6 separate regions of the Homo sapiens genome follow, and regions 1, 2, 3, 4 and 5 are each linked to region 6. Evidence: promoter capture Hi-C in 16 types of primary human blood cells and fetal thymus (Javierre and others, 2016). All regions are on one chromosome and are shown on one strand. Each heading gives the region's core, a stretch centred on a gene start or on the middle of the fragment in contact. The rest is flanking DNA. Distances are from core to core; before and after follow the strand shown.

Region 1 (5,170 bases), core at 772-3,271, 71 kb before region 6:
AAACAGCATCCCTATCTGCCACTGATACCTCTAGCACTATGCTGGGTCATATGGCTTAAGTGGCAGAGCAGCTTGCACAGCAGCATGGACCAGTTGCCAAGCCTTCTCCTGTTCTGGTCCTCACTCAAAACTGGCAGCCTTTCAGGTAACTTGATAAATGGGGCAGAGTAATACACCCAAATGAGAAATGTGTTGCCTCCAAAATCCAAATAGGCCCACTAAGCGTTACATCTCTTTCTTGGTTGTAGGAGGGGCCAAATGCAGAAACTTATCATTCACCTTGGAAGAAATATCTCAACAGACTTCAGTAAGTTCAGTGTGATTGCTACTTCTTGCTCACTGGATCCAATCAGCATAATGTCATCAGTGTAATGGACCAGTGTCATATCTTGTAGAAGACAAAAGCAATCAAAATCACTCCAAACAAGATTATGACACAAAGCCAGAGAGTTGATATACTGCTGAGGTAGGACAGTAAAGGTATATTGCTGGCCTTGTCAACTGAAGGCAAATTGCTTCTGGTGGGCCTTATGGACAGGAATGGAGAAAAAGGCATTTGCCAAATCAATGGTTACATACCAGGTACCAGGAGATGTGTTAATTTGCTCAAACAATGAAACCACATCTGGTACAGCAGCTGCAATTGGAGTCACCACTTGGTTAAGCTTACAATAATCCAGTGTCATTCTCCAAGATCCATCTGTCTTCTGCACAGGCCAAGTGGAGAGTTGAATGGGGATGTGGTGGGAATCACCACCCCTGCATTTTTCAAGATCTTGTTGTGGCACTAATCTCTGCCAGGGATGCAATATTCTTTTTGATTTACTATTTTTCTAGGTAGAGGCAGCTCTAATGGCTTCCATTTGGCCTTTCACACCATAATTAGCCCTCACTCTACCATTCATGGAGCCAATGTGGTGGTTTTGCTATCTGCTAAGTATGTCTTTGCCAATTATGCATGCTGAAACTGGGGAAATGACCACAGGATGAGTCCAGGGACACACCAGACGCACTGTAGGTTGGACCTGAGCTAAAACTTCATTAATTACCTGACCTCCATAGGCTCCTACTTTAAGAGGAAGAACACAATGATGTTTTGGGTCCCTTGCAATCAATGTCAGCTCAGAGCCAGTGTCCGGTAGTGAAATGGGAGAGTCCCGTGACCCCCATCACAGGACGTGTGACAGGGTATGTCTCATCTTTTCAGCCATCGTATGTGCTCAATCCCTTTACAGGAACATGAGCAGGCAGTCAGGCAGGTGCAGGAGCTGGGATATGCACTTTAGGGCTCCGGCCCCATGGTAGCATCTAGAGGTGGGTGCCTGTGACTCCTAAAGCCCAAATGGGTGTGTGTTACAGTACACTTTTTTTAGCTTTGCCATCTGCAGATGGCTTATGTTTTAACCAGCTTAGTGCCCCCTTGGTACTCAGGTCCTTGTCCATTGTCCAGGAAGAATCAGTTCACACACAGACTTGAGGATGGTGAATGCGGGGGTTTTATTGAGTGGTAGAGGTGGCTCTCAGTGGGATGAATGGGGAGCTGGAAAGGGGATGGAGTGGGAAGATAATCTTCTTCTGGAGTTTGCCTGTCTAGTGGCCAATCTCTCCAACCATTTCCAACTGAACTCTCGATATTCAGATGCTCCTTCTCCTCTCTGCTCTGCTGTTCTGCCATTCTGCTCTCCTGTATGTCTCCTTGTGGAACTGGGGGTTTGAGGTTTATATGGGTACAAAATAGGGGTGTGTGGTGGGCCAAAAGACAACTTTCTGTTGCAAAAACAGAATGCCTATTCTCATTTAGGGCCATAGTTTTTCAGGCTTGAGGGCAGGGTCTTTCCTGGGGAACCACCCTCTTCTAACCAGTATTTCCCTGTTTCCTGTCTGTATCATTTCTCCCCTCTGAAGAGGCACATCTAACTGCCATTAGAATATGGACAATGACCAATCCTAGCTACTTCCTGCTAATAAGGGGCATTGTTTCAGGGAAAACAGCAGTCAGATTTCTCCCAGAGGTCTATCTAGGGGTCCCAAGCAGAAGGGAGCCGTTCTTCTGGGGTTCCATTGCCTGACAATTTGGAGTTTGATAGCCTCTAGGTGAGAGGAAAAAAAAGTAAGTTTTTATAAGGTTAAGTATGCATGGGTTAAACATGTGTATTATACAAGGAAGGAATCTACTGCCAAATATTACAGCAATAAGAAGTGAAATATACTAATCATTCTGAAAAAAATATTGTGCCTCACTGTATAGAACAGAACAAAGGTAAGAACAGCAAGCATGGGAAAGACTATAAAGAGGATATCCATGGAAGGTTAATTATTAACACTTATCTTTTGTGATTTTTAGCTTGAGGTCCCCAATCTCTTCACATTGGTACTTTGAGTGCTCTTTTGGGTTGACAGAGTCACCTCAGGTGACTCCATTGGCTTTCCAGGCCATTAATCTAGTATAATGAATCCAAGACTCTATTCCAGTGACCTTCACTGCCATAGGAGTAGAAAGAAGTACAGTGAAAGGTCTCTCCCAACCTGGACCTATAGAGGGAGAGAGGGAAGGAAGTACCTTTACTAGCACTAGGACCCCTGGGTTTAATAGAAGTGGCCTTGGTTCATGGGATTGGGCCTCTGACAGTTGTTTCAGTTGCTGTTGGAAATGGGCCAAAAAGGTTATGTGTTTAATTAAATCAGAGGTTTCTTGGTCCAGCAAGAAATCATTGGTGAGAAAAGGGTGTCCATACATCATTTTGAAGGGACACAAACCTATCTTTGAAGGAGTGTTTCTAATACACAGTAGGGCTACGGGGAGAAGGGTAATCCAGGGGAGGTGAGTCTCCTAAGATAGTTTCCTGAGATGCCTTTGATAATATCATTTGTCTTTTCTACCTTTCCTGAGGATTGTGGTTTCCAGACACAATGAAGATGGTACTGTGTGCCTAGTGACTTTGAGAACACTTGGGTGACAGCCACCTTGAGCAAGGGACCATTATTGCTCTGGAGGTAGTTAGGGAGTCCAAGGCAAGGAATTATCTCATTGATTAGTACTTTTGTCACCTTAGAGGCTTTGTCTGTTTGGCATGGAAATGTTTCTACCCAGTTAGTGAATTATCTATCCATACTAGGAGGTACTGGATGCCCTTTGCTTTTGGCATATGAGTGAAATCCATTTGCCAGTCTTCCCCTGGGTAGCCTCCTATACTTTGGGTTCCTGAGGGAAGAAGCTGTCAATTAAGAGGATTGTTTCTAAGGCAGGTCTCACAAGCATTAACAACCTGTTTAACCATTTCTATCAGTTTTTTACCTGAGAACAATCTCTGGGCCAGTTGATAGATTTTATCCTTTTAAGAACTTTCCACTGGTTGGCAGTCAGTAGATGAAGCTTGCCATCCTCCAGTTGTAGCCATGCTGAGGATTGAAAGATGTATCCCTGAGAGGTGGCCCCTTCTATTTTCACAAAAGAATATTGAGGTTTTATTTCTCTGATGGGTCCTTCCCAGATTAGTGGGGATTCAAGTGGGTCAGAGATCTGGGACCCCCTTGCTGCTGATTTAGCTGCTCAGCCCACCAGCCTATTTCTGTCAGTTATTTTATCTATCCCTCTTTGGTGGCCTTTACAATGTATTACTGCCACTTTCCATGGGAGGAAAATGGAGGATAATAGTCTATTTATCTCCTGATGGTATTTAATAGGAGACCCATTAGCTGTGAGGAAGATCCTCTCTTTCCAGATAGTGCCATGGATATGTAGGACTAGGAAAGTGTACTTAGAATCAGTATAAATGTTGGCTGTTTTTCCTTTGCTTAATTCAAATGCCCTTGTGAGGGTGATTAGTTTGGCTAGTTAAGCTCTTGTACCTGAGAAGAGAGGTGTGCTCTCAACAATATCATTCAGAGTAACTATTGCATACCTTGCTTTATGGGTTCCTTGTTCTACCAAAGAGCTTCCATCTGCAAAGGGAATCCAGCCTGGGTTCTCTAAGGGGGTTTCCTTGAGGTCTTCTCTGGCTGCATAGGTTTGTACTACTATTTGGCTTGCAGTCATGTTCAAGCTCCTCGGCTTCCTCTGGGAGGAAGGTGACTGGATTTAGGGAGGGACAGATTCTTAATTGAACTGAAGATTCTTCTAATAACAGAGCTTGATACCTGAGGAGTCAGTTGTATGTTAGCCAGAGACTTCCCTTAGAAGGCAGTAGTCCTCCCACATTATGTGGGATATGAATGGTTAAGTTATTCCTCATGGTTAACTTAGTTGCCTCCGGTACCAGCAGGGCTACTGCTGTGATTACCAGGAGTGAGGCTGGCCATCCTTTGGCTACCAAATTTAGTTCCTCACTCAGGGAGCCTACAGACTGCTGGGCTGAGCCCTGGGCCTGTGGTAGAACTCCCAGTGCCATTCCCTTTCTTTCTGACACATAAAGATTACATGTTTTCCCCATGGGGAGACTAAAGGCTGGTGCCTTAAGCAAGCTTATTTTAGTTGGTCAAAGGCCTTTCTAGCCTACAGTTCACAAATAAGACAGTGAGTTTTAGCTGCCTGAGTCTCCTTTATTAGGTGATATAAGGAACAAGCTATTTCACCATACCCAGGTATCCATAGTCTGGAGGATCCTGTAATGTCTAAGAAGCCTTGCAGTTTCTTGAGGGTTTTGGGGTCGGGAAAGGGGGGTGGCGGGCAGGGGAGAAGATGGGTTTAATCCTGCTTTGCCCAATGCCCTGGTTCTCTCTGACAAGACCAGGTCTAGGTACTTCACTAAAGTCTGACAGAACTGAGCTTTAGATTTTGGAACTTTATATCCTCGATTAGCCAGAAAATTTAGAAGAGCCTTACTGCCCTCCTGAGAGATTTCCTCATTTGGAGCACAGAGGAGAAGGTCATCCACATGTTGCAAACCTTTAACCTGAGAGTAAAGGAACTCAGAGAGGTCTCTTGGTAATGCCTCCCCAAACAAGTGACGGCTGTCTTGGAACCCCTAAAGTAACACCAACCAGATTAACTTGGTGATTTGGTTAGAAGGATCCTCAAATGCAAGCAAATACTGGGAGTCAGGGTGTAATGGTATGCAGAAGAAGGCATCCTTTAGGTCAGGACTGTGAACATTTTAGCTTCCTCAGGTATTTGAGCTAGCAGGGTATACATATTGGGAACCACCGGGTGTATTGGACCCACAGCCTCATG
Region 2 (4,990 bases), core at 1,054-3,553, 110 kb after region 6:
CCTTGGGGTTTGGTTTCAGACTTCACTGAAGTTCCAACGTATGAAAGGAGGATTGGAGGGACTAACTTCAGACCATAGCAACAGGTTAATAGAGTTTACATTAATTCTGTAATATAACTTATTTGAGCCCATATAGATATGAAGTGAATAAGGGACCCAAGTACCTCCTGAGAAAGTCATTTATACAAATAAAGATTTGATTGATTGTCTTTGCTGAAATGGAAGCAACCCGTTTCCCCTGCCAGGAACTTAACGTTCCTATACATTTAACTGGTATAGGCCTTGTCTGCCTGGATTCTGCTGTCACTATATGTTGTTTCTCCTCTTCCCTTGAAGGCTTCCCTCTGGGCTGCACAGTGAAGTCTGAAACCAAAGGCATCTGGATGTGGTGTGTGCCCCACCCCTCCAAGCCAAACCACACCCTGATCCTTCTGGACACGGAGGGCCTGGGTGATATGGAAAAGGTAAGAAAGAGACATAGAGAAATCTTCTTTACCTTTGATTCTCTATTTATGTTTTTATGCATAGTATCAATCCAACTTCTCTGGCCTATTCCTGAATCACAAATCTGATTATGGGAAACAAAGCTAAATTTCATTTTCTGGAACTTACTTTCTTGGTAAGCACAAATATTTTGGACTATTGGTGATACATCTTCTTATTTTTAACAGTTGGATGAATTATAAAATTTAATAAATACTGCATGGCAGAAGTCTAGGGCTGTGTGCTATATTAATAAAGAATCCTGAATTTCAAAGCTCTACGCTAATCAATGAACCAGGTAAATGCTCAGAGCCTAGTGGCGAAGACAACATTGTGACCATTTAGAGTGCTCAGATGCTGAAAGTGAGGGCCTAACCTAATGATACAATTTAGGAGAAAGCTTCCTGGAAGAAGCTGTAACCTGTGGGATTAATGGGTGCTACTAGTTAAGGTGTGTGGGGTTTGTAGGCTTGAAGGTAGAATCAGGAAAATAGAGTTTCACTGAAATAACCTGTTTTTAAATGTCTAGAAAAGCACTAGCTAGCCGGGCACGGTGGCTCACACCTGTAATCCCAACACTTTGCAAGGCCGAGGCGGGTGGACCATCTGAGGTCAGAAGTCCGAGACCAGCCTAGCCAACATGGTGAAACCCCATCTCTACTGAAAATGCAAAAATTAGCCCAGCGCAGAGGCGGGCACCTGTAATCCCAGCTATTCAGGAGGCTGAGGCAGGAGTATCGCTTGGACCCGGGAAGTGGAGGTTGCACTGAACCGAGATCATGCCACTGCACTCCAGCCTGAGTGACAGAGTGAGACTCCATCTCAAAAACAAAACAAACAAACAAACAAAAAACAAAAAAAAAAGAAAGAAAAAGAAAAGAAAACCACCAGCTATACCGGGAACATTTATAAAATTTTTACCCAATTTACTGGGCTAGGCAATGTAGTCATCACTGACTTCTAGAATAGTGTGAGCTAGCCCCACACAAAAATTTGCAAATTGGCTAATTCTAGATAATTTTGCTTTATAGTATTAAGTGCAGTCTTTTCCTTTATTTATATTAGTCTGAGTATAAATTGAAAATAGGATTAGTCAGAAACGACAGGGGGATGGTTACCACTGACCCCACATAAATACAATATTAAGAAAACCTCCATGGACATAAACTAGACAATCTACACAAAATGGACAAATTTGTTGACACATATACCCTCTCAAGACTTAACTGGGAAGAAATTGAATCCCTGAACAGACAAATGATGAGCTCTGAAATTGAGGCAGTAATAAATAGCCCACCTACCAAAAAAAAAAAAAGCCCAGAAACAGATGGATTCATAGCTGAATTTACCAGATGTACAAAGAAAAGCTGGTAGCATTCCTACTGAAAATATTCCAAAAAATTGAGGAGGAGGCACTCCTCCCTAACTCATTCTATGGGGCCAGCATCATCCTGATACCAAAACCTGGAAGAGATACAACAACAAAAGAGAAAATTTCAGGCCAATATCCTTGATAACATCAATGCAAAAATCCTCAACAAAATACAGGCAAACTAAATCCAGCAACACATCAAAAAGCTTATCCACCATGATCAAGTAGGCTTTATCCCTGGAATGCAAGAATGGATCAAGATATGCAAATCAATAAATGTGATTCATCCCATAAACAGAAATAAAGACAAAAACCACACAATTATCTCAATAGATGCAGAAAATGTTTTCAATAAAATTCAAAGTCCATTCATGGTAAAAACTCTCAATAAACTAGGTATTGAAGGAACATAGCTCAAAATGATAAGAGCCATATATGACAAACCCACTGTCAACATCATACTAAATGGGCAAAAGCTGGAAGCATTCCTCTTGAAAACCGGCACAAGACAAGGATGCCCTCTCTCACCACTCCTGTTCAACATAGTATTGGAAGCCTTGGCCAGGACAATCAGGCAAGAGAAAGCAATAAAGGGCATCCAAACAGGAAAAGAGGAAGTCAAACTCTTGCTGTTTGTCAATGACATGATTATATGTCTAGAAAACCCCCCAGTCTCAGCCCAAAAGCTTCTTAAGCTGATAAACAACTTCAGCAAAGTCTCAGGATACAAAATCGATATGCAAAAATCACTAACATTCCTATACACCAACCACAGTCAAGCTGAAAGCCAAATCAGGAACAAACTCCCATTCATAATTGCTGCTTAGGAATACAGCTAACTAGGGAGGTAAAAGACCTCTCCAAGGAGAACTACAAACCACTGCTCCAAGAAATCAGAGATGACACAAATAAATGGAAAAACATTCCTTCCTCATGGAGAGACAGAATCAATATTGTTAAAATTACCTTACTGCCCAAAGCAATTTATAGATTCAATGCTATTCCTATTAAACTACCATTGAGATTCTTCACAGAATTAGAAAAAAACTGTTTTTAAAAAATTCATATGGGACAGAAAAAGAGCTCAGGCAAAAAATAGCCAACGCAATTCTAAGCAAAAAGAACAAAGCTGGATGCTACTCGACATCAAACTATACTACAGGGCTACAGTAACCAAAATACATGGAACTGGTACAAAAACAGACACATAGACCAATGGAACAGAACAGATAACCCAGAATTTAAGACTGCACAACTACAACTATCTGATCTTTGACAAACCTGAAAAAAAAAAAAAGCAATGGGGAAAAGATTCCCTATTCAATAAATGGTGCTGGGATAACAGGCTAGCCATATGCAGAAGATTGAAATTGGACCCTTTACTTAGACCATATACAAAAGTTAACTCAAGATGGATTAAAGACTTAAATATACAACCCAAAACTATAAAAACCCTGGAAAACCACCCTGGCCATATCATTCAGGACATAGGCATGGGCAAAGATGTCACGATGAAGACACCAAAAAAGCTATAGTAACAAAAGCAAAAATTGACAAATGGGAACTAACTAAAGAGCTTCTGCACAGCAAAAGAAACCATCAACAGAGTAAACAAACAACCTAAAGAATGGGAGAAAATATTTGCAAACTCTGCAGCTGACAAAGGACTAATATCCAGCATCTATAAGGAACGTAAACAAATTCACACACACAAAAAAATACATTAAAAAGTGGGCAAAAGACATGAACAGACACTTTTCAAAAGAAGACATACATGCAGCCAACAATCATATGGAAAAAAAAAAGCTTAACATCACTGACCATTAGAGAAATGCAAATCAAAACCACAATACTATCATGATCACACCAGTCAGAATGGCTATTATTAAAAAGTCAAAAAATAACAGATGCTGGTTAGGTTGTAGAGAAATAGGAACACTTATCCATTGTTGGTGGGAGTGTAAATTAGTTAAACCATTGTGGGAGACAGTGTGGCAACTACTCAAAGACCTAAAGACAGAACTACCATTTGACCCAGCAATGCCATTACTGGGTATGTACCCAAAGGACTATAAATTGTTCTATTATAAAGATACGTGTACGTGAATATTCATTATGGCACAATAGCAAAGACATGGCATCAATTTAAAGGCCCATAAATGATAGACTAGATAAAGAAAATGTGGTACATATACACTATGGAATACTATGCAGCCATAAAAGAAGAACAAGATCATTTGCAGGGTATGGATGGAGCTGGAGGTCATTATCCTTAGCAAATGGATGCAGGAACAGGAAACCAAATACCACATGTTCTCACTTATAAGTGGGAGCTAAATGATGAGAACACATGGACACATAGAGGGAAACAACACACATTGGAGCCTATCTGAGGGTGGATAATGGGAGGAGGGAAAAGATCAAGAAAAAAAACTAATGCGTACTTGGCTAAATACCTGGGAGATGAAATAATATATGCAACGAACCCCCATGACACAAGTCTACCTATGTAACAAATCCCTGTTGTGCAGTATGAAAGCCAAAACATACTAATTCTATTTTTTTCAAAAGAAATTTTTTTAAGTGTTGTTTTTAAGCATTTGGAAAGGAAAGAAATAAGCCTTTATTGTGACGAAATTATTTCTTTTTTGTCACCTCTATTTCTAATTTTAGTTATTTACTAAACACATATAGCACTAACTATGTGCCAGGAACTATTCTAAGCACTCAGTAAATAATAACTTGTTTAATCATACAACGACCCTATGAAATATGTACTATTATTATCCCTACTCGACAGATAAGGACACTGAGTAGAGAGAGGTCAAGAAACTTGCCCACGGTCACACAGCTACCAGCAGTCAAGCTGGAATCTAAGCCAGGCATCCCATCTGTGAAATCTGTGTTCTTCACTTTGCTTCCTCCCTAAGTGAAATTTTAAAATCTTCACATATGAGGAAGTTAAGGTACATTTTTTTTATTATACTTTAAGTTCTAGGGTACATGTGCACAATGTGCAGCTTTGTTACATATGTACACACGTGCCATGTTGGTGTGCTGCACCCATTAACTTGTCATTTACATTAGGTATATCCCCTAATGCTATCCCTCCACACTCCCTCCACCCCACAGCAG
Region 3 (4,497 bases), core at 1,545-4,044, 91 kb before region 6:
GCTACCATGGGCTGGGGGAGGAGGGAATGCAGAATCATTGTTTAAAGGTAGAGAGTCTCAGTTTACAATGATGAAGTTCTGGAGATAGCTGCACAACTAATGTCACCGAAGTATTTTCTTAATTAGTAAAATAGTAATTTTATTATGTATATTTTACCAACAAAAAAGAGAGTAAAAGACAAAAGCCTGGATAATCGGGCAACCTATTCCTCTGTGTTATGCTACTGCAACCACTTATCTGTCAAAATAACCTACCTCAAAGACAGTGGTTATGCTATAAGGTTTTTGATCGACAACCTGCAGTAACTTTTTAATGATCATCATATACTGAAACTTGTTCTCTAATGCATCAGTGTGACCTTATATGTTTGTCTTTTATCTACAGGTTTGGAAGAGTGATGGGAATAGAAGGGAGAAGGGAAAGGATCCACTATGGGATGAGAAAACTCTAGAGAATACAGGCTATCTTTCCAAAAGGGAAGCAGGAGAATGTCCAGAATCTAAAGAATTCAAGTACAGGCTGAAATACGTAGCCTAGAAGGGTCAGGTTCTCTGCAATTTACTCCCACAGACAAGAATAAGAAAAAGAATAAGAATAACAATACATATAATATTGCATATTATTTATGGAGATAAATTATAGATATCTAGAGAGAGAGAGAAATTATGTACATACATATTAATAGATAAGTTAGAGAGATTTCTTTTTGAGAGATAAAGTCAATGTCACTTTTGGGTGAATCGAGGTGAAAGGCATATGGGATTTAATTGTAATATTTTTAGAGGTGAAGTTTAATTCCATAAATTTAGTATTGAAAGTACAATTATTCTGTAGGTCTCCTGGCACATTTTTATTGCCATTATATTAAAATGGTTTTCTATGATACCTGTATTTCCTTATAATTAGAAAAATGTAAACATAATATTGTCTTCAAATGCCTCAAATACTCAGTTTAGAATTGATATGTCAGACACTCAAGATGCATCTAATGCCACCAAAAATACCAGCTCTATCATTCACTACTTATGTGGCCTTGACCAAGGAGGTCAAGCTAGCTGAGCCTGTTAATTATAGGGGTCTGTGAGTTAAATCATACATCCAACCTGGAGGGTGTTTTGATAATAAAACGAGACATTATAAGTTTATATCTTTGCATAGCATGCACCACACAATAGGATTTCAGTAAATGTTGAATTAAATGGAGGTTACTACAATAATTACAATAACAATTGGTCCATTAGATTATATATTTCAACAAAATATACAAACTATAAGTTACTAAGAAACAAAAACTACAAATAAATTTTTCACGGAAGCAAAACTGTAAAGTTCAAGCACGCTGTTGCTGTACAACCTGCTCTTGTCTGATTCTTCACTGAGGGGAGTAAGGAAAATGGAGATCAAACACGAGGTCCTGATTTCCACAGTGAAATGCATTGTAATGTGATGTGTAACGTGTTCATCACATTACAGTGACTGCAACTGTACAGTCCCTTCTTTAAAGTGAACAATAAAGGCAGCTCTAGGAAGATGTGGCTGCTCCTGCAAACAACTTTATATAAACCAGGTCTCTGGTTTCTTAGCTGTGTGGGAACCACAGACCTTTTAACTTCTACTAAATGAAATACAGCTGTTCAATCCTATTCAGGACTGGTTTTCACACTCTGATGTACATAAGAATCACCTGATCACTCTGATGATAGTTTCTTTTGCTGTGCAGAAGCTCTTTAATTAGATCCCATTCTCAGCAAACTAACACAGGAACAGAAAACCAAAAACTGCGTGTTCTAACTGGTAAGTGGGAGTTGAACAATGAGAACATGTGGACACGGGCGGCGGGGGGTTGGCGCTGGGGGTGGGGGTGGGAAACTCACACACTGGGGCCTGTCAGTGGGTGGAGGGCAAGGGGAGGGAGAGCATTAGGACAAATACCTAATGCATGCGGGGCTTAAAACCTAGATGACGGATTGATAGGTGCAGCAAACCACCATGGGACATGGTGGTTTTTAAAAAAATCTTTTTTATTTTAAACATAGTGTCTATTCTTCATCTTTTTTTTTTTTAAAGAATCAACTGAGAGGATTGTTCAAACCCAGATTCCCAGGCCTAAGTATCCATCTGTTTAGCAAGAGCTACAAGAGACTCTGATGTTCCTATGGGAAACTAACACCCCCCTCCTCCCCCACCCCCTCCCCACACACACATACACACACACACACACACACGCACACACAGAGTTTGGACTATATAATTATTTTTAAGTAATAAAGACCAGTGATGTGGGGCCTAAGTTTATTTCTACATAGAGATTTATAGAGCTCTTATTCTGAAGCTTTCCTAAGTGTGACCACTAGAAAGATAGACAAGAAACTCTCCCTTCCGGTATAATTGCCTGGAAGCTCCTTGTTCTCTGCATTCTGGGGCTTGCCGCAGGACCTGAGAGAGATAGCCAGGCAGGCGCCCACCAGGGCTCATTCCAGGCCACTCACTGCTGTCCTGAGTTGATGATCAGGGAACAGCACATCCAGGGGGACGCGGCGTGCCCGGCTGTCACTGGTTCAAGTGGAGAAGCTGAGCTTCCCCAGAACTAAAGCCAGCCACAGACTCCTGCAGGCCAGGCAGCAGGCACCCTGCCCTTCCTGCCCATTCCTCAGTTACCACTCTGAATCAGAAACCAAGTCTTGAGTTAGGAACTAAGTTGCATTTAAAAGAAAGTGAACATACCTGCTCTATAGCACCGCAGGTCCAAGAACAGTTTTCAGTTGCCTCACTCACCTCTTGTTTTCTTTCCTCCTTTTACTTTTCTGTTCTTTCCTTTATAAAAGGAAAAAAAAGCTGAGTAAGCTAGTTGTTTCCACAAATGGGATGGTGCAGTAAAAATAAACTTGGAAGTAAAATTAATCCATGCTTTTAATAAAGTGTTAGCAGAGCCATGCCTGAATCATCCGATGTGAGTTTGAGGATGGGTGTTGGGTGCAGGGGTGGGAGGAGGTCAGAAAAAGCCACAGATACTGCACAGTCACACCTTAGCAAGCACAATCCTGCCAGCTTTCTTTTGTCTTTCCCATCTTAGAAGGCTTCACAGGCTTTCTTCTTGATACCGTTCCCAGGTGGCTTTAGTTTCCTAGGCACACAAGAAAAACAGGAAATCTACAGTAGTCACATAAGCAAAGCCTTAGAAACCAAGAATATTTTAAGCATTTTTCTCTTAGTGGGAATTCTTGAGTTCTGGGGTCTTTTGTTAGTGAAGAACTTTTGATATTTTAAATGTGTTCACACATGCACACACACACACAGAAGAGAGAGAGAGAAAGAGAGAGAGCTAAAGATATTACTGGTTTAAAAAAAGAATGAACCATGTCTTTTACAGCAACATGGATGGAACTGGAGTTCATTATCTTAGGTGAAACAACTCAGAAACCGAAAGTCAAATACCACATTCTTACTCATAAGTGGAAGCTAAAAAATCTGCATACATGGACATAGAAGGTGGAATGTGCAGTGCATAACAGTGTACAAGCTCCTATGAGAATCTAATGCTGCTGCTGATCTGACAGGAGGCAGGTCTCAGGCCTTAGTGCTCTCTCCCTACTCACCTCCTGTGTGGCCCAGTTTCTAACAGACCATGCTCTGGGGGTTTGGGACCCTTGATGTGGACTATTTATCCAACAACCCACAGTTTCCATTGGTTGAGTCTTATCCCCAGGGACTTTAACTATTTTGAATTCACAAGCTGCCCTTGGGCAAAATAGACACCCTTTCACAGCTTGGAGAAACATCTGAGTGAGAAAAGGAGAAAGACTCTCTACAGAGGACATAGCAGCATGCTGGGACTGTCTACCATGGCTGCACTGCTAAATGGATTTGAGAACAGAAGCAAGTGGCAGAATGAGCAGACATGAGTTTTGGCAATAACTTAGGCTGAGGATTTGGGGAGTGTGGTAGACTAATCTGAATACTCTATTCAGACAAAGACTTGTGTTAAAAATGTAAAATTCTGGGCCAGGTGCGGTGGCTCACTCCTGTAATCCCAGCACTTTGGGAGGCCGAGGCGGGCGGATCACGAGGTCAGGAGATCAAGACCATCCTGGCTAACAGGGGGAAACCCTGTCTCTCTCTACTAGAAATACAAAAAAATTAGCCGGGTGTGGTGGCGGGCACCTGTAGTCCCAGCTCCTCAGGAGACTGAGGCAGGAGAATGGTGTGAACCTGGGAGGCAGAGCTTGCAGTGAGCCGAGATTGTGCCACTGCACTCCAGCCTGGGCGACAGAGCGAGACTCCATCTCAAAAAAAAAGGAAAATTCTGGATTCAAAAATGTTTAATATTTTCAAAAGCAATATTAAAAATTGACTAATTTGTCATGAATGATCTTAAAGACCAAATTCCAAGGGAAGGTGAACGCCCAAAGAGTTAAGTGGAGTATTGAAGCTGTTTTTTTTCTAATAGCATTTGCCAACCAAGGGAATGTGACCTTCAGTTTGGAAGGCATTTATGA
Region 4 (5,071 bases), core at 581-3,080, 76 kb after region 6:
GCTGCTCTATATTCATTTTGGAGGCGAAAGATACCTAAGCTAAGGGTGGAAGAGGGACAAACAAACCTGAGTTTCAGGAGTCTGGTGTGGAGGAACCAGCACTTTCAAGCTCCTTTAGTTTCCTGTCTTGATAAACAGGAAAATCCCCAACAGTCAACTCCCCACAAAGTGCATGTCCTTTCAATTTCGGTTCTCACAGACTCTTACTTGGATGTCTGTAAATCCGGCTGGACTTTCAGCTTCTAAGAACAGTCCGTTTCTCGAGGATCCAGGCGCAGGAGGACAGAGCAATGGGTGAGAGAACTCTTCACGCTGCAGTGCCCACACCAGGTAAGTTTGCTCTTAAGCTTTACCTTTCAAGTATATTTGGGTTATAACAAACAACAACAAATTCCCAAGCGCAGACTGCACACGGGGAGGGTTGGAGACTTCACACTGGCGGGTGACAAAGGCAGTGGAGGAACCTCGCGGGGAAGTCTGATGCTGCTTGAACCCCTGAGTGCTTTGCTCCGTGTGGCCCAGCGTCTCTAGACGGTCCACAGGCGGCGACCAGAGGCGCACCGGTGTCTCCAGGATGCGCTGCTCCTCCTCGGGCTTCCTCCCAGAGCTGTGGCATTTTCTCCTGCGAAATACCATCATCTAGTATACATATACACATTTTTTGCTTGTTTGTTTTATTAATTTTCTGTCCCCCACTAGAATATGTGATACCCTACCTTGTTTTAACCTGAGTTGACTCTCCCTTAGCTGAAAGAGCCAGACAGTCTGCATCTCGGCTCCTTCACTTGCAGCCCCTTACCCACCCGCTTCCTCAGGGACTTAACTTGTGCAAGCTGACTCCCAGCACATCCAAGAATGCAATTAACTGATAAGGTACTGTGGCAAGCCATACCCGCAGTTCCCAGGAATTCGCCCGGTTAACAGCACCCAGAGCCCCCCGCGTTTGTGTCTGGTTGATAAAGCCCAAAGCCCCGCTTCTATCACCTTGTGATAGAATTAAAGCCCCTGCACCTAGTACTGTTTACTTTCCTGTAACCATTTATCCTTTTAACTTTTTGCCTACTTTACTTCTGTAGGATTGTTTTAACTAGACCCCTCCCCCCAACCTCTCCTTTCTAAACCAAAGTATAGAAGAAAATCTAGCCCCTTCTTCGGGCCGAGAGAATTTTGAGCACTAGCCGTCTCTCGGTCGCCGGCTAATAAAGGACTCCTGAATTCGTCTCAGAGTGTGGCGTTTCTCTGTAACTCGCTGGGTTACAACAAATAGAGCTCCAAGAGGCAGAAGTTTGTATCAATTATGTTCCTTGCTTGTTGCTGAGAATCTAGAACGGTGTTAATTAGCACATGGTAGGTACGCAATACTCTTTATTAAATTAATGAGAGAGCAAATTCTTCTGGAATGCCTGGAGCCTTTTCTAACCACTCCTCATCTCCTTTTTGTAACATCCTGCCCCTATTTATTCCAGGAGTGGAATTATTCTGCCATCAGTGCCTTGATTTTCTAATTCTGTTTATTTTATGCATCACCTTGACAAGGCATTTTTAGCGTTCTTGTAAGAATCATAAATAATGTACATAACAGATCTGTACTAGTCTTTGACATGCTAAACTAAATATTTTTCCATTTGAAATGTACAAATTTTATATACATAGAAATTTTATATACCATTAAACGTAGAAATATATTTATATACCATTAAAATGTAGAAATTTTATATACCATTCCACAAGCAAAAAGCTAATATGTATGTGCCTTAGGTAGCCCTTAGGGATGACTTCAAGATCTTGTATTCTACTGAGTATTTTTTTCTGGGTTACAGGTTATCCAGAATCTGAATCCATCATGATGGCCCCCATTTGTCTAGTGGAAAACCAGGAAGAGCAGCTGACAGTGAATTCAAAGGCATTAGAGATTCTTGACAAGATTTCTCAGCCCGTGGTGGTGGTGGCCATTGTAGGGCTATACCGCACAGGAAAATCCTATCTCATGAATCGTCTTGCAGGAAAGCGCAATGGTGAGTGTGGTCCTAGGACAGGAGCCATTTACTTGGAACCAGTGATAACACAGCTGATCACACCCCCTCTAGGGTCATCCTAAAGAAGGGCATGACTTCTCCCAATGAAGAAAACTTCTAATTCTCACCACTAAATTTACAATCTCAAATATATATCACTCTTTAGTCCAATAGTAAAGAATCATCTCAACCCTATCGAAAGATCCGTTCCATGGGTCTTCTTCATCCCATCTATGCTCACCTCTTCAGGGGCTCAGCCCCAGCAATTATTCCCTTTCTTTCTCATTCATCACTTTTGTGTAGGATACCTGGTCACTTCAAATAGCACACAAATATAGTTTAATAGATCCTGTTTTAAAAAATAAATATGAAGAAGGACAGGCATTATAATTCTTGTGTATCCTCTATTTAAATTGGGCTACCATTTCTAATTTTTTGCTTCATTTCATGGCAAAACTCTGATAAATTATATTCCCTTCTAGTTAGTCTTTCTAATATGTGAACTATGACACATAAAGAAGAGTATGTACAACATACCTTTACAGTGAAGTTAATAAAGTGAATACATGAGAAATCACTATCCAGATCAAGAAATAAAACATTACCAAACCTAAACATCCAAAAATCATACCCTGTCATACCTTCACTAGAACTCACCAGTGTTTTTGTTTTCAGGGCACACTTCTTTGACTCTTGGTTTTTAAAAATGGTTCTACATAATATATATGCATTCTAAAACATAGTTTAGGTTGGTCTGCTTTTAAACTTTACATAAAGGAAATTATATTGTGTGTATTTTTGGATGTCTTGCTTCTTTTGCTCAATAAGAAGTTTATAAGTTTTCTCTAGTTACTATGTGTACCCATTATTTATACCCTCAGACAGTATGCCACTACCTAAGGACAGTACATTTATTTATTGTTGAAAATTGGTATTTTTCCAGTTTTTATCTTTAATGAATAAGGCTGTCATTAATACTCTTATTATTTATATCCTGGTGCACATGTACAAAATCTTCCTTTGTGTAATATTCTCAGAAGTGGGATTTCTGAATCAGAGAGTACATAAAATTTCTAGATAAAGTCCAATAGCTTTTCAAAATTCAAATGCAATTTACATGCTTATTAGCAGTGACTGAGAATTTTACATCCTGCGAAAAATTCAGTAACATAAAGCCTTTTAACTTGTGCTGCCCTGTAGAATGTATTGTTGCATGCCATTTATTTCACTATGAGTAAGTTTAAGTACCTTTTCACATATCAATTGCCATTTTCATTTCTTATTTTGTGAAAGCTTTTTTTTTAAATTATTTTTTCCTACCAGGTTTCTCTTTTGGTTCTTACTGACTTTTAAGACAATCTACCTATGGCTCTGTTAGGTGCTTCTGTTTTTAAAGAAAGACCATGCAGCCATTTCTTCCCCCTAATGTCCTACTTCCTCTCTGGCTCAGCAGCTCGGCACCATTAGGGACTGAACCGCTGTCTACTAAACAAGTTTAAGAAAGAAAACAAGTTTGAGAAAATTCTTAATACATATAAAGGTCAGATTAGTTGTCCTGCCTGAGATGGAAACAACCCTTTTCCCCTGTCAGCCACTTAAACATTCCTACAAGTTTAACCGGTGTAATCCTGGGACATCCTGGTCTATCCACTGTTACTGTTTGTTATTTTTCCTCTTCCCTGCAGGCTTCCCTCTGGGCTCCACGGTGCAGTCTGAAACTAAGGGCATCTGGATGTGGTGTGTGCCCCACCTCTCTAAGCCAAACCACACCCTGGTCCTTCTGGACACCGAGGGCCTGGGCGATGTAGAAAAGGTAAGGCAGAGAAACTTCACCGCTCATGGTTGACCTCTCATCTTTTAATTTTTTCAGCTCCCTTCAACTTCTGTACATATCTCTGTAAACTCAAATCTAATTATGAATAATGAGGCTAAATTCTGTTTCCTCAGACTTCCTTATTAATTTCAAGTATTGAGGCATATTTAAGAGTAGATCTTCTTATTTTTAACACTGGAGTGAATGATATAATTTAATAAATATGTATTGAAGAGATGAATTCCAGGGCTCTGTACTGAGTACTACAGATAAAACAGTAAACAAGGTAAAGGCCAAGAGCCTAGTTGTGAAGACAAGAAATATGGGGTATGATAAGTACAGGGTTTCACAGATGCAAAAAGTGAGAAGCTAGTTCAGTCATTCGACTTAGAGAAGGCTTGTTGGAGAAAGTTGTAACCCATGGGAACAATGGGATCTACTATTTAAGGCGTGTGGGGTTGGAGGAGGGGACCATGAAAAAATAGGGTTTTAGTGAAGGAATCTATTTCAGTAGTTTTCAGAAAAGCATTAATTTTATCACTAACATTTTGGTTCAACTCTCTGAGCTTTGGAGATTAATTCTCCACTGACTTCTTTAATAGCATGAATTAGACCCACAAAGAATATTGTAAGTGAGATAACTTTAGGTATTTTGTCTTAAAGTGTTAGGTGCGATCAGTCCATTCTTCTTATTTGCATTAGTCTTATGTCTGAATTGAAAGTAGCAGCAGTAGATCCTTGGCTTCCATTATTGAAAAAAGGGAGTTGAGGGAAGGAAGCACCAACTTAGCAATTCTGAACTTTAAATTTCAGTATTAAAGGTCTGAATTATTCTCTTAGTGTAATATCAAAGTGAAACATTTATTCTTAATATGTTGTAGTTTTCATAAACTTCTTTGTGTCTAATTACGTTTGTCAAGCGATCAAAACATATCAAAACATAAACTGATGGCAGCAGCAGAACTACTAGCTGACCTTAGAACTTGTAATGTGATTTGGGGACCATCTAAATTTTTTTAAAAACCCTTTCATGTCTTGCCATGAATCTTGTTTCCAGCCTCCTCTTCCACTTCACCAACATGCATACTCACTGCTTCAGGCAAATGAAATAACTGTGTAATGCCCTTTTATGACCATGCTGTGACAATTCTGACTTGGCTTCTATTGATCTTTCCACCTGCTTTATCCGTCCTTCTTCACAAGTCCACACTCTATCAACTTTTTGAAGTGCAACTATTTTCAA
Region 5 (4,701 bases), core at 1,297-3,796, 92 kb after region 6:
ATAGTTTCTTTTGATGTGCAGAAGCTCTTTAATTTAATTAGATCTCCTTTGTCAGTTTTTGTTTTTGCTGCAATTGCTTATGTTATCTTCATCATGAAATTTTAGCCAAGTCTTATGTCCAGAATGGTATTTCTTAGGTTATTTTTCAGAGTTTTTATAGTTTAATGTTTTATATTTAAGTCTTTAATCCTTCTTAAGTTGATTTTTGTATGCAGAGTAAGCTGGGGGCCCAGTTTCAATCTTCTGCATATGGCTAGCCAGTAATCCCAGCACCATTTATTAAATGGGGACTTCTTTCCCCATTGCTTGTTTTTGTCAGCTTTGTCCAAGATCAGATGATTGTAGGTGTACAGCATTATTTCTGGACTCTCTGTTATGTTCCATTTATCTGTGTGTCTGTTTTTCTACTAATACCATGCTGTTTTGGTTACTGTAGCTCTGTAGTATGGTTTGAGGTTTGGTAACTTGATGCCTCCCCTTTTGTTCTTTATGTTTAGGATTGCCTTGGCTAGGCTCTTTTTTGGTTCCATATGAATTTTAAAGTAGTTTCTAATTCTGTGAAGAATGTCATTGGTAGTTTGATAGGGATAGCATTGAACTATTTGCTCAACTCAACATTTTAGGAATTTATTTCTGCTGTCTAGTGCTCAAAACTTGCAGCTAGAATTGAGGGAAGAGAGAGACCTTCTTATATTGTTTTATATTGTTTGATACTCAGTACCTGTTTTAAGAAAAAACAACAAGGAAGTAAAACCAAAGACAGGCAGCCCAGCGCCAGGCCCAAAACCAGGCCTGGGCCTGCCTGGCCTAAACCCAGTAGTTAAAAATCAACTCATTGCCTGTAATCCCAGCACTTTGGGAGGCCGAGACGGGTGGATCACGAGGTCAGGAGATCGAGACCATCCTGGCTAACACGGTGAAACCCCGTCTCTACTAAAAATACAAAAATTAGCCGGGCATGGTGGCACGCGCCTGTAGTCCCAGCTACACGGGAGGCTGAGGCAGGAGAATGGCGTGAACCCAGGAGGCGGAGCTTGCAGTGAGTCGAGATCGCGCCACTGCACTCCAGCCTGGGCGACAGAGCGAAACTCCGTCTCAAAAAAAAAAAAAAAAAATCAACTCATAACTTAGAAACCGATGTTATTCATAGATTCCAGACATTGTATAGAAGAACATTTGGAAACTCACTGCCTTGTTCTGTTTCTCTCTGACCACCAGTGCATGCAGCCCCTGTCATGTACCGCCTGTTTGCTCAAATCAATCATGACCCTTTCATGTGAAATCTTTAGTGTTGTGAGCCCTTAAAAGGGACAGAAATTGTGCATTCAAGGAGCTTGGATTTTAAGGCAGCAGCTTGCTGATGCCACCAGCTGAAAAAAGCCCTTCCTTCTCCAACTCGGTGTCTGAGAAGTTTTGTCTGCAGCTCATCCTGCTACAGAATGAACTCCTTGTAATTCTACAAGATATGCCATGGGCCTTTTCACAGGGGACACAGGCTTCTTAAAACAACCCGGCTTCCTCACCCTATGTCCTTTATTTACAAAGCTGTGCTCCTATTCATGAGCATGGAATGTTTTTCCATTTGTTTGTGACATCTCTTATTTCTTTCAGGGGTATCTTGTAATTCTCATTATATATATCTTTTGCTTCCTTGGTTAGCTGTATTTTTAGGTATTTTAGTCTTCTTGTGGCAATTGTGAATGGGATTGCATTCCTGATTTGGCTCTTGGCTTAATGTTATTAACGCCACATTTTTTAAATAGACAAAAATATGAGATTAAAAATGTTGAATTTTACTAACAATAAAAGTTGTTCAAAGGAAAACTATAAGGTTCTTGTTTCAACTCTGTCATAGGAAGAACAGGACAGTGAGCTGGCACAGAGTTAGGGAAACTGACTGTGTCTCATATTGGCTAGTGAGAGTGATCTGTTGGAATTGTATATCAAAATTTTAATGTACATACATTTTGTCTAGCAATTCTACTATTGGGTATTTATATAGTACATATAAATATAAATGTATATGTTTAGTAAATATATACTTATAGTTAGTAAATATATTTTATATCTATTTAGTAAATATACTAAATGTCAGGCCTCTGAGCCCAAGCTAAGCCATCATATCCCCTGTGACCTGCATGTACATACGTCCAGATGGCCTGAAGCAAGTGAAGAATCACAAAAGAAGTGAAAATGGCCTGTTCCTGCCTTAACTGATGACATTACCTTGTGAAATTCCTTCTCCTGGCTCATCCTGGCTCAAAAGCTCCCCCACTAAGCAACTTGTGACACCCACCTCTGCCCGCCAGAGAACAACCCCCTTTGACTGTAATTTTCCTTTACCAACCCAAATCCTGTAAAATGGTCCCAACCCTATCTCCCTTCACTGACTGTCTTTTCGGACTCAGCCAGCCTGCACCCAGGTGATTAAAAAGCTTTATTGCTCACACAAAGCCTGTTTGGTGGTCTCTTCACACAGACACGAGTGAAACTAAATATATATATTTTATTTTTATATTTGGTATATAAATATAAATATATCTGGTATATATTTGGTATATAAATATATATATATCTGTCACTTACCGATGAGGTAAATTTTGGGACATACTTTCAAAGGAATATTCTACAGTCACTAAAATGAAAAAGGAAGCTTTATTTGTACTACTATGAGAAAGTATCCAAGATATAGCATTAGAAAAAAAAAAGATGCAGAAAGTATGCTGCTACCACTTAATTTAGGAACTAATGAATATGTGTGTACATTATTAGCTCCCTCTGGAAAAATAAAAAATATACTAGTATCCTGGTCATACCAGGAATGGAACTGAATAGTTAAGGTGAGAAATGAGAGGGTAACTCTACATCATATATGTCTTCAACATTTTATGTAAATTCATCATGTATTCAAAAATGGATAAATACAATTATTCAAATTAAAAATTGAAATCATAATACATGGATGGCAGAGGTCCCACAACAGGATGAAAGTAATTAATATTACTAGAAATAGCATAAGTCTGCTCAACAGGAAACATCTTCTCTTTGGAACAGAGAACTAGAAAGGGCACAAAACATGCATCCTAATTTTGTTTTTATTATGGCCTTTCAACAAGATTTCAAAGTTTATCCCCAAATATATGGTCAAATACAACGTTCCCTGGGTTGTCAACTAGTATTCTCTTGACTGAGGGCCCTTTTGCAGGGGACAAAGACTTCTTAAAACAACCCTGCTTCCTCACCTTCTATCCTTTGTCTACCAAATCCTGCTCATCCTTAAGATGTCCTGGTTCCTGACTTTCTGAGGCTTGGTGAGATGCCCCTTTTGGGTTGCCATGGCACCAACTTGTTACTCCTACCATTGAACTTTTTATATAACTGTGAAATTAAAAATGCTTATTTACTTCTCTCTACCACCTCTTGATCTCAGGCGCTTCATTTTCCTCATCAACTTATCTTTAGTTCCAACTACAAAAGCCAGCACAGAGGCTCAAGTTTGGGTTGATTAAATACATATTCTACCCTCCAGTAGGTCCCCAATTTACCATATCTTTACTGTATTCCCAATCTCTAGAGCTCTCAACATAAAATATACAATCTTAGGAAGTCATGCAGAAAAGACTCACTGAGTCAGAAAGAATATGCCCAGTTGTCTTAATCTGCCACCCTGTTCTCTCTGAGGGACTGGACACTCCATTGACTTTATGTTCCTCAAGCTTATTGTTACCAGTGGAGGGTGTCCAGGTTCTTGGTATCTTGAACAAAGGATTGGACAAAACACACAAAGAAAGGAAAGAATGAAGCAACAAAAGCAGATATTTATTGAAAATGGAAGTACACTCCACAGTGTGGGAGTGGGCCCAAGCATAGGGGCTCAAGGGTCCTGTTACAGAATTTTGGGGGATTTAAATACCCTCTAGAGGTTTCCATTGGTTACTTTGTGTATGCCCTATGTAAATGGAGATAATATTTCCCGGCATAGCTGAAGTGTGAATAGGCCTTATGTTCTATGCCTCCAGATCCTATTTTCCTGCCTCATTTCCTCCCTGAGAGATGTCATCCCCATAAATCTTTATGGGAGGTGGAGTGACTAATGGTCTTTCTTCTGTAACTGCCTCATGCTGGCTTGAAGCAAAGTCCCTACCTATTGGGGATCACGGAACTGTCACCCTGCTCTGTCTAGTGGAGGCAGAGTAGCTTCTTGATGGCCAGGGGTGGTGTCTTCAACTGGAACTGGCTGGAACATTTGTCACATGATCTTCTGAAGCTTGATGGTCTCTAGGTGAGAGAAAGTGAATTTGGTTAAAAGATTTAACTGGAACTTCAGGAGGTGGATACCTATGCTGTTAAGAATGCTCGTTACAGACATTTGCAAGAGGAAAAACAAAACCTGGTTATTCAATTAATTTTTTTGTTCTACTTAGATTAGTAGCTTTATACAAGGAAATTTGGTTATTTATGTGGTCTACTATAACTTAATATAATAACTATAATTATAATTGACAGCATGTACTTAGACATTAAAAATTTTAGAAATCTCATACAATTTTGGGACATATATTAGCATTATTCACAAAAATATAACCTAAAGATTGAACAACATTTTGGCAATACTATGTACCTAAACATGTTAAATAATCCTGTTTACCTCTTCTCTGGGTGATTCAGGGGCCCCCTGATCCTTCCAAAAAGCCAGGCATC
Region 6 (4,710 bases), core at 520-3,019:
ATGGCTGGCACTGAAAGGATTCTCTGCAGTTTCTAGGAAACATGCAGTTTCAAAGAAGTCAGGTCAAATACATCCAGCCTATCTACACTAGGTAACAGTTGGGCAATTCCCTTTGTCATCTGGCTTAGTCACTGAATTTCCTTTTTGGTTTCTATTTCCTACAGAGAACTTTCAAAAATCCCCCTTTCTGTTATTCCATATTTTGTATTCAAATTGTCTCCTTTTTCGAGCAGGGAAAATGGGGTGGGAAGAACAAAAACCCCAGGACTGAGTGAAGAAAATAAATGAGAAATCACCACAGTGAAAGTAAAAGACGAGAGTTCGAACTCAGCAAGTTCTCATCGAAGCAGCTTTCTTTTTTCTTTTCTTTTCTTTTTTTTTTTTTTTTTGAGACAGAGTCTCGCTCTGTCACCCAGGCTGAAGTGCAGTGGTGCAGTCTCGGCTCACTGCAAGCTCCGCCTCCCAGGTTCAAGCCATTCTCCTGCCTCAGCCTCCCGAGTAGCTGGGACCACAGGCGCCCGCCACCATGCCCAGGTAATTTTTTGTATATTTTTAGTAGAGACGGGGTTTCATCGTGTTAGCCAGGATGGTCTAGATCTCCTGACCTCGTCATCCACCCGCCTCGGCCACCCAACATGCTGGGATTACAGGCGTGAGCCACCGTGCCCAGTCCCTCATGGAAGCAGTTTTCTTACTAGCTCTAAAATACCTCTTCTCCCGATTTTATAATCAAGGTAATGAGAGGTGACGGCGTGCTGGCAGCCCTTGCAGCCCTCCCTCGCTCTCGGTGCCTCCTCTGCCTGGGCACCCACTCTGGCGGCACTTGAGGAGCCCTTCAGCCCTCCGCTGCACTGTGGGAGCCCCTTCCTGGGCTGGCCGAGGCCGGAGCTGGCTCCCTCAGCTTGCTGGGAGGTGTGGAGGGAGAGGCAGGGGTGGGAACTGGGGCTGCGCCCGGTGCTTGAGGGCCAGCGCGAGTTCTGGGTGGGCTTGGGCTCTGAGGGACCTGCACTCGGAGCGGCCCCAGGCAGTGAGGGGCTTAGCACCTGGGCCAGCAGCTGCTGTGCTCCACTTCTTGCAGGGCCTTAGCTGCCTCCCGGTGGGGCAGGGCTGGGGACCTGCAGCCTGCCATGCCTGAGCCTCCTCCCCTCTCCCGCTCCCCACCTCACCCCGCCATGGGTTCCTGTGCTGCCTGAGCCTCCCCAACCTGTGCTGACCCCTGCTCCACAGCACCCTGTCCCATCCATGGCCCAAGGACCGAGGAGTGCCAGTGCATGGAGCAGGACTGGCAGGCAGCTCCACCTGCCGCCCGGTGCAAGATCCACTGGGTGAAGCCAGCTGGGCTCTTGAGTCTAGTGGGAACTTGGAGAATCTTTATGTCTAGCTAAGGGATTGTAAATACACCAATCAGCACTCTGTATCTATTTAATCTGGTGGGGACTTGGAGAATCTTTATGTCTAGCTAAGGGATTGTAAATGCACCAATCAGCACTCTGTATCTACCTCAAGGTTTGTAAATGCACCAATCAGCACTCTGTATCTAGCTCAAGGTTTGTAAATAGGCCAATCCACACTCTGTATCTAGCTAATCTAGTGGGGACATGAAGAACTTTTGTGTCCAGCTCAGGGATTGTAAACACACCAATCAGCACCCTGTCAAAACAGACCAATCAGCTCTCTGTAAAATGGACCAATCGGCTCTCTGTAAAATGGACCCATCAGCAGGATGTGGGTGGGGCCAGATAAGAGAAGTAGCCAGCAGTGGCAACCCACTGAGGTCACCCTCCAGGCTGTGGAACCTTTGTTCTTTCACTCTTTGCAATAAATCTTGCTGCTGCTCACTCTTTGGGTCCACACTGCCTTTATGAGCTGTAACACTCACTGGGAATGTCTGCAGCTTCACTCCTGAAGCCAGCGAGACCACGAACCCACCAGGAGGAACAAACAACTCCAGACGCGCAGCCTTAAGAGCTGTAACACTCACCGCGAAGGTCTGCAGCTTCACTCCTGAGCCAGCCAGACCACGAACCCACCAGAAGGAAGAAACTCCAAACACATCCGAACATCAGAAGGAGCAAACTCCTGACACGCCACCTTTAAGAACCGTGACACTCAACGCTAGGGTCCGCGGCTTCATTCTTGAAGTCAGTGAGACCAAGAACCCACCAATTCCGGACACGGTAAGACTGGGGCAAGAGGTGGAAGAGATTTGCAAGATTCATTTGGTTTTAGAAACATTCTACAAAGGATAGGATGCAGCTTATCCTGATGTGGTATATCAGACCTCAGTAAAGAATAAATTGTATTCTTATCAGACAGGCAGCAGAATTCATCAAGTACCAGCTGTGTCTGCCTCTTGCTGAATTAGACATCAATGTGTGTGGTGACTAAACTAAGAGTTTGAAATGCCTTCAAATTATTTTTCTTCCTTTGCAATTTTATGACTTATTCAGGATCATAATTTCCACTTAAGTTACCTTCGTCCTTCATAAAATCTGATTAAACTGACTCGAACTTCAGCATGAAAGTTTCAAAAACTATGATAGCTATTATTTTCATGAGAAAGAACAATGAATATGATGCAATGTAAGTAGCTTGCAAACATTAAGGACAAGAAAAAAATGTTGCCCAGAGAGAAGTTTCATGAAAACAGTGATGTATTTTTAGTCATAGTCTTGTACTTTGTTTGAAAGTAGATTTCTTCCTTTAGCAATAGCCCTGACTTAATTCATGTTGGTTTCTTGGCATCTACTCACTTAACTAACCCCTTTTGTGTTGGGTTCTGCTTCTACTACTCTATTGCCTTTACTATTATGAATCACCTAATTTAACAGTTGCCCAACTGGATCCCTCAATACTGTCTGGCAACTGTTCACTCGTTGAAATTCTCTCCTTTGAATTTCTTACCATGACACATACTTCAAGCATTTTGTACTAGTTTGATTTCCATTTATATCCTTAATAAGAGCCTTTTCCTTTTCCTTGAAATTCAAACCAGAAACTATGCAAAATAAGCAAAAGCAAGCAATAACAACTACATATACAAATGCAGGCGCAAAACCCAAACTAGAATCATATGGCTGAAAACAGATGTTTTCTTTCAGAAATCCTTCCACTACCACTTCTGAGCATTTTCTCTTAGTATTTTTTTTTGGGCATTTTCCTTCTTTGCACTTTTTAAAATCTCCTGCAGCTCGCTCACTCTCTTTCATAAGCCAGCAGTTATACTGATGTTAATAAATAGTTGTTTATTTACTTTTGCTTTTTTAGAAAACAAGCTGAAAGAATTGAGTGAAATGCCAGAGAGATACAGATAGCCAGTTGTAGGGCTGGGGTTGGAAATCAAGTCTAATTTAAGGCAAGGGCAAAATGTGCATTTTGTGTGTGTATTTTGAACCATTCTTGCATTGTTTTTATTTGCAAAGGTTATAGGGCTCAAGCAGTTAGGGAGAATGCATCCCAGAACACTAAGTTATGAATAACAGAGCAACAGTTATGTTTGTGGCTTGAACACATTAAATCTGCAATAATGTTTTAGAAATTTGGCTTTACTAAAAGCATTAAAGATGCTATCCAGATGACATTGGGGACAACATGTCAAATACTATTATTAATGTAGATATACAATGCTATTGTCATTCATAAGAGAGTCTGAACACTCAGACACATTCATTCCCTCTTCCTTAGTGACATCATCCCAAATCATAAGATCTTGTAAGCTCTCAATATCTGCTTATAGATTTGGCTTATGTATCTTTTGTTTTTCTAGCTAATTGTTGTAGATCATCACTTCAAGGTGCCCATATCTTTCTAGTGGAAAAATTATTCTGGCCTCCGCTGCATACAAATCAGGCAACCAGAATTCTACATATATAAGGTACTAATACTACATTGAAAATAGATTAGAATGAGAAGAGACCTGCCATTTGAGTCTCTAAATTTGTTGCAAAATTGCCTCTTTCTGGGTCAGGCTTGCACTAGGCATTTCCTGACTCCCATGTCCTAGTGCTACACCATTTGCAAATGGATATCCTATTTTCTGCTGCCAAGCAGTTTCTGTTTTAATTTATGTCAACATAATGATTTCCAGGGCATTAGCTATGAGGAAGCAGGGAGAATGGGTCTTCATAATTGTAAAATGACAGTTTTTGAAATTTGCTAGTAAAGAGATGGAGAATCCAAACCTTTTCATTGTAAGATTTTAGTGAAAGAACTCGTCAAGCGGATAGTGAAGTTTTAGCATCCTTAGTAAATAACCACCTTTAAAATGGAAGAAAACTATCCTTTATGATAAGGCAAAGTAGAAAAGCATATTTTTATGGCATTTGCTTTTTCTCATATAGCTCAAACATTTTTTTTAACCAGAGACTCTTTAGGTTATAGGGATTGATGCTCAGAAGTTAGAAAAAAATAGGTTAAGTATTATTAAAGGAAGTTGTTTTACTCATTCAGTCAATCATAAAATAATCATGCTTTGAAGTTTTGGTTTAATAAAGCACATTAGTAACTATGTAAAAAATTTCAAGTATATCACTAAGAAGCAAACAGCTATGATTTGTTAGATAATGCTGCATAATGACTTGGTAGTATTTAATGTAATGCAGTTTGACTGGACATAGATCTAACTGAAAAAAATGAAGTTGACACAAAGTAAAAGGAACAGTGTAATATATTAATAAAGAACATCATAAAGAATTAATATAGGAACCCAGG

What was found. The method cuts DNA at HindIII sites, captures the fragments that hold promoters and counts their contacts. A CHiCAGO score of 5 or more calls a contact.
Region 1: a fragment that was not itself captured here is called in contact with the fragment with the promoter of GBP5 in region 6 in 7 of 17 cell types (activated CD4 T cells, total CD8 T cells, non-activated CD4 T cells and 4 more); the score reaches 10.9 in activated CD4 T cells.
Region 2: a contact is called between a fragment that was not itself captured here and the fragment with the promoter of GBP5 in region 6, in 1 of 17 cell types (total CD8 T cells). The highest score is 8.5, in total CD8 T cells.
Region 3: a contact is called between the fragment with the promoter of GBP6 here and the fragment with the promoter of GBP5 in region 6, in 8 of 17 cell types (activated CD4 T cells, total CD8 T cells, naive CD8 T cells and 5 more). The highest score is 15.1, in activated CD4 T cells.
Region 4: a fragment that was not itself captured here is called in contact with the fragment with the promoter of GBP5 in region 6 in 8 of 17 cell types (activated CD4 T cells, total CD8 T cells, non-activated CD4 T cells and 5 more); the score reaches 29.9 in activated CD4 T cells.
Region 5: a fragment that was not itself captured here is called in contact with the fragment with the promoter of GBP5 in region 6 in 4 of 17 cell types (total CD8 T cells, non-activated CD4 T cells, activated CD4 T cells and 1 more); the score reaches 7.4 in total CD8 T cells.

Annotation. Positions count from the first base shown.
Region 1 is chr1:89,341,016-89,346,185 of GRCh38, reverse strand. No RefSeq gene overlaps it. Among named protein-coding and RNA genes, the nearest start is that of GBP6, 20 kb to the left of the region's middle. The HindIII fragment of the contact is 2,708 bases long and covers 668-3,375 here.
Region 2 is chr1:89,160,205-89,165,194 of GRCh38, reverse strand. It overlaps GBP7 (guanylate binding protein 7), which reads left to right. Exons shown (of 11, transcript NM_207398.3): 3 at 337-464. All of the region lies in intron 3 of LOC105378842 (a long non-coding RNA gene), which reads right to left. Among named protein-coding and RNA genes, the nearest start is that of GBP7, 13 kb to the left of the region's middle. The HindIII fragment of the contact is 480 bases long and covers 2,064-2,543 here.
Region 3 is chr1:89,362,356-89,366,852 of GRCh38, reverse strand. It overlaps GBP6 (guanylate binding protein family member 6), which reads right to left and starts at 2,794. Exons shown (of 11, transcript NM_198460.3): 1 at 2,726-2,794. The HindIII fragment of the contact is 2,752 bases long and covers 2,336-4,497 here.
Region 4 is chr1:89,194,054-89,199,124 of GRCh38, reverse strand. It overlaps GBP4 (guanylate binding protein 4), which reads left to right and starts at 183. Exons shown (of 11, transcript NM_052941.5): 1 at 183-330; 2 at 1,821-2,015; 3 at 3,701-3,828. The coding sequence starts at 291. LOC107985076 (a long non-coding RNA gene) reads right to left here and starts at 778. Exons shown (of 3, transcript XR_002958332.2): 1 at 717-778; 2 at 67-622. RefSeq lists a silencer at 85-379. The HindIII fragment of the contact is 2,961 bases long and covers 350-3,310 here.
Region 5 is chr1:89,178,896-89,183,596 of GRCh38, reverse strand. It overlaps GBP4 (guanylate binding protein 4), which reads left to right. Exons shown (of 11, transcript NM_052941.5): 11 at 1-2,453. LOC105378842 (a long non-coding RNA gene) reads right to left here. Exons shown (of 4, transcript XR_947579.3): 4 at 3,799-4,278. Among named protein-coding and RNA genes, the nearest start is that of GBP7, 5.2 kb to the right of the region's middle. The HindIII fragment of the contact is 218 bases long and covers 2,438-2,655 here.
Region 6 is chr1:89,269,919-89,274,628 of GRCh38, reverse strand. GBP5 (guanylate binding protein 5) reads left to right here and starts at 1,769. Exons shown (of 12, transcript NM_052942.5): 1 at 1,769-2,177; 2 at 3,767-3,874. It also overlaps the pseudogene LOC100421401. The HindIII fragment of the contact is 6,725 bases long and covers 1-4,710 here.